2 separate regions of the Homo sapiens genome follow, and region 2 is linked to region 1. The links are contacts of gene promoters, found by promoter capture Hi-C in blood cells and fetal thymus (Javierre and others, 2016). All regions are on one chromosome and are shown on one strand. The core of a region is centred on a gene start or on the middle of the fragment in contact, and the rest is flanking DNA. Distances in the headings are between cores, read along the strand shown. Region 1 holds the start of HACD4 (3-hydroxyacyl-CoA dehydratase 4). Region 2 has its middle 140 kb from the start of SLC24A2.

Evidence for each region. The method cuts DNA at HindIII sites, captures the fragments that hold promoters and counts their contacts. A CHiCAGO score of 5 or more calls a contact.
Region 2: a contact is called between a fragment that was not itself captured here and the fragment with the promoter of HACD4 in region 1, in 7 of 17 cell types (monocytes, M1 macrophages, activated CD4 T cells and 4 more). The highest score is 7.5, in monocytes.

The regions. Positions count from the first base shown.
Region 1 is chr9:21,027,403-21,033,452 of GRCh38, reverse strand. HACD4 (3-hydroxyacyl-CoA dehydratase 4) reads left to right here and starts at 1,813. Exons shown (of 7, transcript NM_001010915.5): 1 at 1,813-1,900; 2 at 4,055-4,158. The coding sequence starts at 1,863. LOC105375989 (a long non-coding RNA gene) reads right to left here and starts at 1,811. Exons shown (of 3, transcript XR_007061435.1): 1 at 1,453-1,811; 2 at 802-981; 3 at 1-90. RefSeq lists an enhancer at 1,474-2,034 and a silencer at 1,678-2,037. The HindIII fragment of the contact is 3,612 bases long and covers 1,432-5,043 here.
Region 2 is chr9:19,929,137-19,935,760 of GRCh38, reverse strand. It overlaps a transcript of SLC24A2 not described here. Among named protein-coding and RNA genes, the nearest start is that of SLC24A2, 140 kb to the right of the region's middle. The HindIII fragment of the contact is 3,650 bases long and covers 1-3,494 here.

The DNA.
Region 1 (6,050 bases), core at 564-3,063:
GGATCAATTCTTCTGGGCAGGCTTTCCACCTTCTCCCTCCTGCCCCACTGCAGGCCATCTGGGACTTTACTTTCTCTCTTGCTGCTTAACCTGATCAGAGATAGCATTGATAATGGGTTAGCCACCAGTTTACCCTTTAGATCAAATGTTCTGTAAAAGCAAGGACCGTGGGGCATCATCCTGCAAGGTGATACAGGATAGGGATTCGGCGAAAAATTAACATGCTCGCGGACGGAGCAGTGTCAGGAGAGTCAAACTGTAAGGTATTATGGAACAGGAAGATGGTAGGAAATGAAAGAAGCACCTGATCAGAGAAGGCAGGCAGGGAGTTATTAGAAGATTCCATTGAGAGAGAAACAGAAAGAATACAATGTTTAATTATATGCTAAGAGAGAGTTGTCTATGTCCCTAAAGTGCAGTGAAAGCCAATGGAAAGGAGGGGATGACGATGCAAGAAGAGGCGATGGTTAACTACTGATGCAGTGAGTCTGAGAAGGGACTGGTAAACACAAAGTTGGGGTTAACCTCCGACTGAGGGCAGGGTATGAGAGAAGGTGCAGAGAAATGTAGAGGTGAGAGGTAGGCATAGTGAATGGAATGGACTATGAAAAAAGGAAGCCACGGCCTAATGGGAAACAAACAAGAAATCCCACCAACCTTGAAGTTCTGATACTGCCATTTTATCAATTGTGTGACCTGTGCCAAGTGACTTAACATTTTTTTAATGCCTCAACTTCCCTTTTGGTAAAAATGGGGGCGCTAACTTCCAACTCCAAAACCAGGTGCCATTGTCCCACTTACTTGCAAGTGCCTTCTTAGATGTTTCTGTTTTTGTTTTAACGTTTCCCTTTCTGGGCAGAGGAGCTTGAAGATGGGCTGGATCTTATTAGCAAAGCAGGAGGGTGGGTCATCTGTGTACGGAGACAGTGATGTCATAAGCCTGAGAGATCACGAAGGGGTTGTAGCAGTGCTGGGCATAGGCTAGAGAAATTAACACAACGTGAATAAAGATTTGCAGGCACCAGTGAGAACCCAAGGGAGATTAGAGAGCAGGGAGGCCTGATAGAAGAGGAATCAGGCCCCTAGCTGAAAAAGTGTTGGGGAGGTGTGCTACAAACTTCGTTTTATTTTTATTTATTTTTTGAGACAGGATCTCGCTCTGTTACCCAGGCTGGAGTGTAGCCGCGTGATCTTGGCTCATTGCAGCCTCGACCTCCCAGGCTCAAGCGATCCTCCCACCTCAGCCTCTGGAGTAGCTGGGACCACAGGCCCGCGTCACCATGCCCGACTAATTTTTGTACATTTAGTAGAGACGCGTTTTCGCTATGTTGCCCAGGCTGGTCTCGAACTCCTGGGCTCAAAAGATCCTCCCGCCTCGGCCTCCCAAAGTGCTGGGATTATAGGCATTAGCCACTGCGCCCGGCACAAGCTTCGTGTCTGAACCTGGCTCACCGGTGGGCATTGAGCAGAGCCCACCCTGGAATCCACTCATCTCGGGAGGTTTGGGGATGGGCTTCAGCGAGTTCGGAGGCCCCGGAAATCGCCCAGATGCATTAATTTCCAGAAGGCTTGCAAGGGGGTCTCAACACAAAGATTAGGAAGCTGTAACCAGAGTTTGGTAACCCCACCGGGAACGCGAGCCGCCTCCCAGCCTTGCGCCCTGACGCGCTCTAGCAGTGCTGCAGAAACTTCGAGAACTTCGTTTTCATCTCTTCCCCAACGCACGACCTCGGGCTTTTTCTTTTTGTAAACTGCTGAGTGTGGAGAGGCCCCGCCCTTCCGCGCCCAGCCGCGGGGCCGCCCCTGCCTCCTCCCCGGTACTCCTTCCTGGACCGCGCTGGAAGCCCTGGCGGCGGCGGCCCATGGGGCCCTTGGCGCTGCCCGCCTGGCTGCAGCCCAGGTAGGGCGCTCGGCCGAATCCCGAGGGGAGGGGGCGCGGGTGGAGGGCCTGGAGGCGGGAGCTCCCCTCTGCGGCGGGCGGGCGGGCGGCACCCCCCGCCCGCCAGCAAGGCGCAGCGCTACCGTGCCCAGGCACCCCTTGGAGCTCATGCAGGTATTTGCTAACTTACCCCTCTTGACCACCCTAGGAAGCAGGCTCTGTTATTTTCTCCATTTTACAGTTGAATGGGAAGGACAGGCTGCATGGCTACCCCTGCCCTTGTGAGCCCTCTGCCAGTACTTCCCTCCCCCCAGGAGCCTTCTCTTGACTTTCTCAGACGCAGAGTTGCGGGGTGATTTTTAGATGTAACAGCCGTGGAAACACCTATCACACGTATAGATTTCAGGGCCTAGTTCCGGCGGGGAACAGATTCAGTCATATAGCGGTAGGGCCTGGGGGTGTATATGTTTAACCCACAAGCCAGGTAATTCTGATACAAGCTGAAGGAGGATTTCCTCTTCCCAAACCCTTTAGCAGTTCCTGCCTTTATAGGGGAGGATGTCCCCAAATAAAAATCATTCTGCCTCCCAGCTTATTTTCCTTGTTTCTAGGAGGTTTCACATCTTCAAGGAGGAGTAAATCTTGACCACACTGGCAGGGCCACTCCCGTCACTCTTCTGAACTCCCAGGGAACATTTCAAACAGTGCTTTTCCTAACTCCCTCAAACCATCTATCTGTCAATCTTCTCTTAGTCATCTCCCCAGCAACTCACAACACATTGTTAAACCCAGCTTGACTTCCCTCTTCTGGTATGAGCAACTAAACTGCTTTCGATATGTATCTGATGAAGGAAACTATCTACCCTTGCAAAATGTTAATAGGCAGTGGCAAGATGTTAATACTAACCTCAATCACATAATGTGTTCAAAAGTCAGGTGTGTCCAATTACTGAATTACCCAACATTTGGATTACTCCCATCCCTACCCCCCTTCAGAACTAAAACACTGTGTCTCAAGTTCTGCACTTAGCAAGCTGAGCTACTGGAACACATAGTGACATGTCAACCACTCTGCACACATGGATTTTTTGTTGTTGTTGTTGTTTTGTTTTTTATTTTTTATTTATTTTTGAGAACAGAGTTTTGATCTGTCGCCCAGGCTGGAGTGCAGTGGCGCTGTCTCGGTTCACTGCAGCCTCTACCTCCCAGGTTCAAGTGATTGTCCTGCCTCAGCCTCCTGAGCAGCTAGGTAGCTGGGATTACAGGCATACGTTACCACATCCGGCTTTTTTTTTTTTTTTTTTGTAAGTTGCCATGTTGGCCAGGCTGGTCTTGAACTTCTGGCCTCAAGTGATCCAACCCGCCTTGGCCTCCCAAAGTGCTGGGATTACATGCCTGAGCCACCGCGCCCAGCCTGTTTTGTTTTTTTAAAGAATATTCAAAGCCACCTTCGCAGTGGTTTCTTTTATTCCTTGGTGAGCAGCAAGGTTAGAACTTTATCAAAGATGAAAGCAGATTTTGAAAAAGCACTATATTTGGTTTTAAGCAAACTCACTATACAGATGGTCCATGACTCACAATTTTTTAAACTTTGTGATGGTGTGAAAATGATATGTATTCATTAGAAACCGTACTTCAAATTTTGGATTTTAATCTTTCCCCAGGCTAGCGATGTGCAGGTATGATATCCTTTCATGATGCTGGGCCGCGGCATCAGGCCGCAGCTCCCAGTCGGCCGCATGATCAGGAAGGTAAACAACCGGTACTCCACAGTGCACTGTGTTGCCAGATGATTCCACCCAACTGTAAGCTAATGTAGGTGTTCTGAGCAAGTTTAAGGTAGACTAGGCTAAGCTGTGATGTTCTGTAGATCAGTTGTATTACATGCATTTTCAACTTATGATATTTTCAGTTTATGATATTTTCAGCTGATGGGGTGTACCAGGACGTAACTTCATCATAAGTGAAGAAGCATCTGTATTTACTTTAGCGGGTAGTGTAGGTTATGGCTCCCTTCAAAATCTGATATGTACTTGGGGGTAACCAGATAAAAGACTGATATGAAACAGTTTTCTTTTGCTTTCTCAGGTTGGCCAGTACATTAAAGGGCATGTGTACAGTGATGAAAGGATGATTATAAAAGAAGTGTTTAATGGTATTTTCCTGTATTTATAGGTATAGGAAGAATGCGTATCTTTTCATCTATTACTTAATCCAGTTCTGTGGCCACTCTTGGATATTTACAAATATGACAGTCAGATTCTTTTCATTTGGAAAAGGTAAAACTCCGAAACAGTTTTTTTATTTTTAACTTTTAATCCTTGTTTTCACCTCATCCTGCTTATATTAAATTTCTACACACCTCAACCTTCTAATATCCTTCTCTAAAATTTGTATTTTTTAGCAACCATGTTTATTGCAAAACCTTCTTGGGGAAGGGGGAAGGTGGGATAAGTAAGGGAAAGGGATTTGGCTTCCCCCTGAGTTGGCAGTTTGCCTCAAAAAAGAGATGGATGGCACTGAGGTGGTATCATTTCATTGTTCCTTTTCCATTCTGTACCAAACCTTAGCAGATTTCTAGTGTTTTGAGGAAATCTCAGCATAACATTTTATGCAGAGAAATCAGGAATGAATCAAATTCTTCCAGTGTTTGTATTATTCCCCAGGTTTGAGGTAACTGGAGACTACTAGTAAGTGAAATACAAATTTTATATTCCCCAAGCCTCTATTTGGTCCCTTTAAGAAGTAATATGTAAATGACACACTTTGTAGAGGGCTAACCACTTATATAGGAGTCAGCATTAATGGTTTAAGTCATAAACTTCCTCTAGTTTCCTGAAAAGTAAAGTCACTGTTGGGTGACTAAATGACTATCAAAATAACATTCTCTTCATGTTCCATCCGCACGTGGGTAAGTGTCCTCACAGTTTACAACTGTTGAGTGACTTGACAATCTAAGCAACTGCTGGCTTCAGCTAAAAACAAATGTTTAGAATGTAGCTGGGAAAAGTCATGCTGTGCTCATCATTTCAGACGTGTGTATCATAAGGAAGTTATTCTACTTGCAGGGTCCCATAAGCTATTTTATGTTGCTTTTTCTTACTGAAAATCTACAGATATAGTCTCGCCTTTGTTAAGGACCTCCAAAGATATAACCTAAAGCTTGAGTTTCAACTACAAATGTTGAGAGTTTTCAAGCACAGGAAAACACAGGTGATGGGAAAACTTCTTTTATATTTTTATTAAAAAGCCATCACTTCTAGCCCTTTGAGGTTTGCTGAGGCAGTGCAGGCATATTACATGTCATTGGCAACACAAGCCATGGACTGGCTTATGCTGTCTCACCTTTCCAGTGAGAAAAGTTGCCTTAGTCATCAAGTATTTCTTTTTCTTTTCTTTCTTTTTTTTTCTTTTCTTTTTTCTTTTTTTTTTTTTTTTGAGATGGAGTTTCCCTCTTGTCGCCCAGGCTGGAGTGCAATGGTACGATGTCACCTCACTGCAACCTCTGTCTCCCAGGTTCAAGTGATTCTCCTGCCTCAGTTCCCTGAGTAGCTGGGATTACAGGTGCCCGCCACCATGCCTGGCTAATTTTTGTATTTTCAGTAGACACGGGGTTTCACCACATTGGCCAGGCTGGTATTGAACTCCTGACCAAAGGTGATCCGCCTGCCTCAGCCTCCCAAAGTGCTGGGATTACAGGCGTGAGCCACTGTGCCCGGCTCGGCGCATTTCTTTCTCAGTTATTATCCTGCCATTACAATTGTAGAAGCTTATTATTAAAGAAACACAACCGATTCGTTCAGGAGACAGACTGAAAACAACTAAGTGTGGTTTCAGTACAATTTTTGAATCAATGTATAAATTATGTAAGTAGCTCAACAGAAACCTGAAACCCTGAACGTGTTATACCTGCTACCTTCTTCCTTCACGGAGCTGTGTAATTCATAATGCTCTGGTACAGCAAGTGCAGGGCAGTGGATAAGAGCATGGACTGTGTACTTCAGGAACCATCTCTGAAATGGGGATGATGATAATAGTGTCCATCTTGTGGAGCTGCCGAGAAGAGAAATCCTTACTGCTCAGTAAATTATTATTGTGTGAATCATCACTGGGCAGTAAAGAGAGCAAAATCTTCCCTACGAGTTTCTAAACATGGCAGGATTTCATTTTA
Region 2 (6,624 bases), core at 420-2,919, 1.1 Mb after region 1:
TCCTCACACTAGGACACACATCAGACACGTGGGGGACCTGGCAGAAGAGCATTCCTGACAGCTCTGGTAAAGGCAACGTCAGTGGCAGCCAAGGAACCTACCCTCCTATGCCATTCAGCACCAGCCACGCTTTGGACAGACAAGAAGCCTCGTCCTGAGGACACACACAAGGGCTGCTAATCAGGCAGCCACTCAGCTTGCACCCCAGGACAGGTGAATGAGTAGGGTGGTGATTGAATGAGGAATCAGGTGGCAGCTTTGTTTTGTTTATTTTTCTCAAACAAGACATTAGTTTATATTATCTACCCACTCCCTTTCAACCCTGCTGCTCTTAAGTGCTGGGTTTTTTTTGTTTTGTTTGTTTATTTGTTTTGTTTTTTGGTTTCAGTTCTTTCAGATCCTCTTCAGCAGCAAGGACTTTGTGCCTACCAGAGGCTCTTAAACTTTAGTATGCTTAACAATCATCCAGCAAAGTTGTTAAAAAATATACATTTTTATGCTAGAACCCCCCTGTCTTTAACACACACACCCCACCCCCCAATCCCGATTTCCAATATAGTAGGTCAGGCTGGAAGCTGGGGGATCTATTTTTCACAAGCAACCCAAGTGATGCAAACGCAGGCACAATATTGAGAAATATTTTCCACCCATCCTGCCCCGTGACTAAAGGGAGAACCAACAACAGCACCAAAATATAAAATAAAATAAAATAAAATAAATAAATAAAATAAAAATAAGTGGTAGTGGGCCCCCACAGAAAGAAATCGATTCCTCCTTTCCCACGAGGAAAACAAAGTTCCAGAGGCGCCAAGACGCCCATATCTCAAGGCCATGAGACCCCTGCCAGCTCTCCCGCCTCCAAAACTCCAATTTAAAATCTTTCTCTTCCACCACTCACCGCTCCTCCTTTCCCTGGAGGAGAAGACAGAAACGGACTCGCCACGCTTGCCCTCCCCGCCACGCCCCGCTCGGTTCGTTACTCTGTAGAGGCTGGCGACCAGCAAAAGAGAAAGTTCCCGAGCTTTACAACTCTCCGGGAAGCGTAGGGAACGTTTCCTCTCGGAAAGCTCTTCGCCGCGATTTTCCCAGGGCTGCACTTGAATGAAACCCCCAAAGGAAATTACCACTTAAATGAGGCAGGAGGTGCTGGCTGCCTGTTTGGCCTCTGCTGTGCACGCTGCCTGGCAGGCAGCGCAGGAGGCTCCGGAGCCCCGCCATGGGCGCGCACGGTGCACGGGGGCCGGAACGGGGGTGCGCGGGGACCTGGGAGCTGCAATGGGGGCCAGGATTTGCTTGGGGTCCTTGTGGTGCGCGGGAGCCCGGGGGTGCGCGGGGGTCCGGGATACACTCTCACACCGGTGCAGGGCATGTGTCTCGGCCCATGGAGGCCGCTTTGGAAAACCGACGCTGAGACATGAAGCCACCTGTTTGCTTCCTGCCAAATCCTTCACTGGCCTGTTGGGAAGGGGACGGATAAAATGATGGGCCTGCTTTGAGGCCCGGCCACCCCGTCTTGGAAACTGCCCTAATAAGTGCAGAGACCTCTCAGAGAGCCAGGCTGTAGGCGTCATAAAAGCAAGAACAAGATCTGTTTTAGTTTGCTCTGAAAATCTGTTTTAAAATTAAGGTATAATTCAGATACTATAAAATTCGCCCTTTTAAAGTGTACTATTCAGTGGTTTTCAGTATACTTAGGAGGTTGAGTAGCCATCACAACTAAGTCCAGAACATTTTCATCACCCCAAAAAAGAAAGCCCTCTGCTCATTAGCAGTCACGCCCCCATTATTCCTTTCCTGCATACCCCTAGCATACCATTAATCTACTTTCTGCCTCTATGGATTTGCCTGTTTGGGGAATCTCACATAAATGGAATCATACTACATGTGGCTTTTGTGCCTGGCATCTTTCACTTAGGATAAAGTTTTCAGGTTATTCCCATGGTCGCATGCACCAGGACTTTATTCCTTTGTATTGTGAAACAATATTGCATTGTATGGATATACCACATTTCGTTTATCCATTCATCAGTTGATGAACATTTGGGTTGTTTCTACTTTTTGGCTATTATAAGTAATGCTGCTACGAAGATGCATGTACAAGTGTTTAAACAGACATGTGTTTTATTTCTTTTTAATATGTATGTAGGAGTAGTATTGCTGGGTCCTGTGGTAACTGTGGAATCTTTTGAAAGGATCTGTTTTTACCTGTACAGTTGATAGCCCACCCCCGGCGCGTTCTTTGACAAGTAGATGAATGAATTGAATGGATGAATGAATGAATGAATGAATGAATGGAACTAAGAATCAAATAAATGAGATTATGAGCTTTTGAGTGTGAAAGCATTTTATACTTTATTAAGAGCAATACAAGTGGGATTTACTGCTATTCTTAAGTGATGATATCAGAAGTTCTTAACTTGTGATCTAAGGAAGAGCTACAGGACACCTGTGAATCCCAGAAGTTGTATATAGAATTGTTTGAGTATGTGTGCAAGTACCGTTGCTTTTAGATCAGGCAAGAGGGGTACCTTAGCATGCCTTACTCTGGCTGTGCCCCTCTCTACAGGACATGATGTTCCAGAGGTCCAAGCAAAGTGCCCACTATAAGCCTGCTTCCTCCTTTTTTGGCCCATGGTTCTGCTCCTAGAACCTGGGAATTTTCTACCTAAAGAGCTCAAGCCTCTTCCCCAAGTCCATCCTCCCCGCAGCCCCCACCTCCTGCCCCAGGGCTGGGAAGGCCAAGGATGAGAAGGCCACCACTTTCCAGAGAAAAATTCCAAGGAGTCCAACAATTCTATATTTGAACTTGGCCTTCCAGCCTTAGGTTCCTTTGAAGGACTTAAAAGGGTGAAACCAGTGATGACGGGGGAATCTGAGAGTATTATGGACAGAGTAGGACGGGGTGAGATGAGGAAAAACCTGTGGCATAAGGTGTATGGCTCTCCCTTTGTACGCTTGTCCCAGGCCTTATAACTGATAGGAAAGGACCTATGCACATGTATATTTTTTCAAAGAGAGGGTATTGTAGGTGTCAGACTCACAGTGGCCTGCAAAGTCTGAAACACAGTGGCAAGAGTTGAAAACTAAAGACAGCACCAGACTAGAAGTCAGAAGTTCTGAGTTCTAGCCCTCTTCTTCCACATACCCACGAAGTGAACTTAGGTAAATTCTCATAACCGTGAGTCACCCATACAATAAAATGGAAATAATCATAGCATACATTGAAAACTTCCATAAACCATAAAGGAATGCAAGATGTCATTTTAATAGATATTTCCCCACCTTGGTTTTTTTGGCTACAGCTGCTTCATTAGCAGGCCCCTAAAATTATTAATTCAGGCTCATAATATTGCTACCAGCTAAATTTCACTATGATATTGAAGAAGCTCCACGTAAGACAACATTGGGCTACATAATTTGTATAACATTATTCGGCAGTGAATTAGTGGCAGTTAAAAAATATCTACCGGAATTTTAACGATCCTTCCCAAGCTTTCATCTCTACCCAACACACTCTCACCTAAGAAAAAGAAACCAAGACCATTTCAGAACAAAAATATTTTTCTTACAACTTTGACTATTTAAATGGTTTCCTTTTTCTCCTATGGTTCGGTACTATTTTTTAGAGTTTTACTGCATGAATTTATTCTAGTATTTGTTTGTTTCAATACGCTCATGTTTAATGGGACCGTATTGTGGTATGCGAATACATGAGAAATTTCAGCTGTTGACCATGATGGCTGATGCATAATGGATGATTTTTTAAATTAACAAAACTAATTCTCTTTCTACATGGGAGGAAAAAGTAAGACTCAAAACTAAAAATAATAATAATAATAAATAAAATTAAATTAAAAACCCAGTTCAGTCTATAATGTAAAATAGCCAACTCAATATTTTATTTCTTTATTCAATGAATTCATTGTTATTATTTATAAATTGTATATAAGGTGAGAGTTTAAAGAACATAATTATTCTGGTTGTTTGTGCTGTTGTTTGAGGTAGGGTGACCAGCTGTCTTGTTTGGCCTGGAACTGAGGGGTGTTGTGGACATGGGACTTCCCATGCCAAATATGGGACAGTCCTGGGCAAACCAAAATGTTTAGTCACCCTAATTTGAAGATAACATGTACCATTTTGCCTGTGATTTAAATATAAAAGCCTTGGTAGATTTTTCAGTCAATTTAGATGTTCTATTGTCTACATCTCCTTTTTGGTAAGTGAATAAGTAATCTATGTCAGTATGATGTTTGTATACTTTAAGTAGAACAACAAAGGCATAGAGAAAAAATAATAATTTTAACATTCTAAATAGATTTTTGTGTGATCAGAAAGAATTGTGGGTTTTCTCTTGTTGGTTTTATGTGTTAAATACATTATTTTGTATATGGTTATTGTGAAAAAAATCTATTTTTAAATTACAGTATTGAATGTGGAAGTTACATGATTTTTTACTTCCTCAATTATAATAACTCTTTCTGTGAACTTCCACTTTGATAATTATCAGTCCAGTTTGAATGCCTGACTGATCAGGACTGCAACCTGACCTTCCACACCTTTTGATTGTCTTACTTGGCTGGAAGGATGGTCTTGTATCTGTTGGTGTTGATTTTAGCTATTGATATTGTCATTCTTAAGTGTTTTTAATTTTTGTTTAATGAGGTTTTGCTTCCTACCCTTTTAAGTAACATTCTATGGTTATCATGATTATTTAATGTCTTTTCTTGGAGGTTTCAATCACTATTGGTCATTGCTAGTGTCAATGAATTCTGCTAATGCCAATCCTATATGGAAGCACAAAGGTTTAGTAATCTATGCTTGACCAATTGTGGGATGCAGTAAAATTAATAGTTTCCCCCATTATTAATCTTTAAAATAAACACAGGCTAAAAGAACCAGAACACTTGGATATAAATCCCAGCTTGATCACTCTCTAGCTATCTGAATGTGGACAATTACAGCAAGTCTCTGGCACCCTGTTTCCTAGCTACAAATGAGAAAGTTGGACTTCATCAGGGATTCTTAACAGAATTCCTGAGTGGTCTGCAGGGGATCTGTGAACCTTCCTGAAATTATAATACCTTTAGTAAATATGTCTGTATGTGCAGCCCCCTCCCCAACAGCATCCATTGCTTCCCACAAATTCGAAAGCAGTCCTTGTCCTAAGAAAGATTGAAAACTTCTGAGCCAGATGGCCACTGAGAAGACTCTAGGGGCAGTATATGATGTACAATCATGGGTCACTTCATGATGGGGACACAATCTGAGAAATGCATGGTTAGGTGGTTTTGTCATTGTGTTACACGAACTTAGATGGTGTAGCCACCTACACACCTAGGCTGTATGGTATAGCCTATTGCTGCTAGGCTACAGATCTGTACACCATGTTACTATTCTCAATACTACAGGCAATTGTAACACAATGATAAATATTTGTGTATTTAAATACATCTCAATGTGGAAACACTAGAGTAAATATATGCTATAGAAGATTTTTTAAATGGTATACCTGTATGGGGCATGAATGGAGCTTGCAGGACTGGAAGTTGCTCTGGGTGAGTTGGTGAGTGAGTGATAAGTAAATGTGAAGACCTAGGACATTACTGTATACTACTGTAGACTTTATAAACACTGTAAAATTAGGCTACACTAAATGTATAAACAATTTTTCTTCAATAATAAATTAACCTTTGTTACTATAAAGTTTTTTACTTTATAAACGCTGTAATTTTTAAAATTTTGACTTTTTGTAATAACACTTAGCTTAAAACACAAATATATTGTATAGCTATACGAAAATATTTTTATATCGTTATTCTATAACCTTTTTTCTGTTTAAAATTTTTAATATTTTTTGCTTTTTAGACTTTTTTGTTAGAAACCAAGACACAAACATGTACATTAGCCTACACAGGGTCAGGAGCATCAGTATAATTGTCTTCCACCTCTACATCTGTCCCACTGGAAGTTCTTCAGGGAAAATAACATGCATGGAGCTGTCACCTCCTATGATAACAATGCCTTCTTCTGGAACACCTCCTGAAGAACCTGCCTGAGGCTTTTTATAGTTAACATTTTTTTTAATAAATAGGAGTACACCCTAAAATAACTGTGAAAAATATAGTACAGTAAATATACAAACCAGTAACATCGTCATTTATTATTATCAAGTATTACGTACTGTATGTAATTGTATGTGCTATTCTTTTTTACAACTGGCAAACAAGTGAGTAATGTGTTGCTCTACCACATGCTGATGGCTATAATGTCACCAGGCAATAGGATATTTTCAGGTCCTGGGATCACCATCATATATTTGATCTGTTGTTGACTGAAAAGTTGTTATGCAGTGCATGATTGTATACATTTTAAAAAATCATTGTAGTCAGCCTATTTAAGACAAATTCAGCAGACTCTACTAAAATTCCCTAAATGAAGACTGTGAATGGCTTGCTAAGAGTCCATGGGCATCTTGGACTTCCGGCTGCCAGAGAGCTGCACGGGTGAGAGTCCAGGGTAAAAGGAGTGAAAGGAGTTCCCTTCAGTCTTGGGCTGAGGAATTTGGAGTTAACCTTGTTAGAAGCAGACTCAGAAACTACCAGATCATCTAGAAAGGGTGTTTAT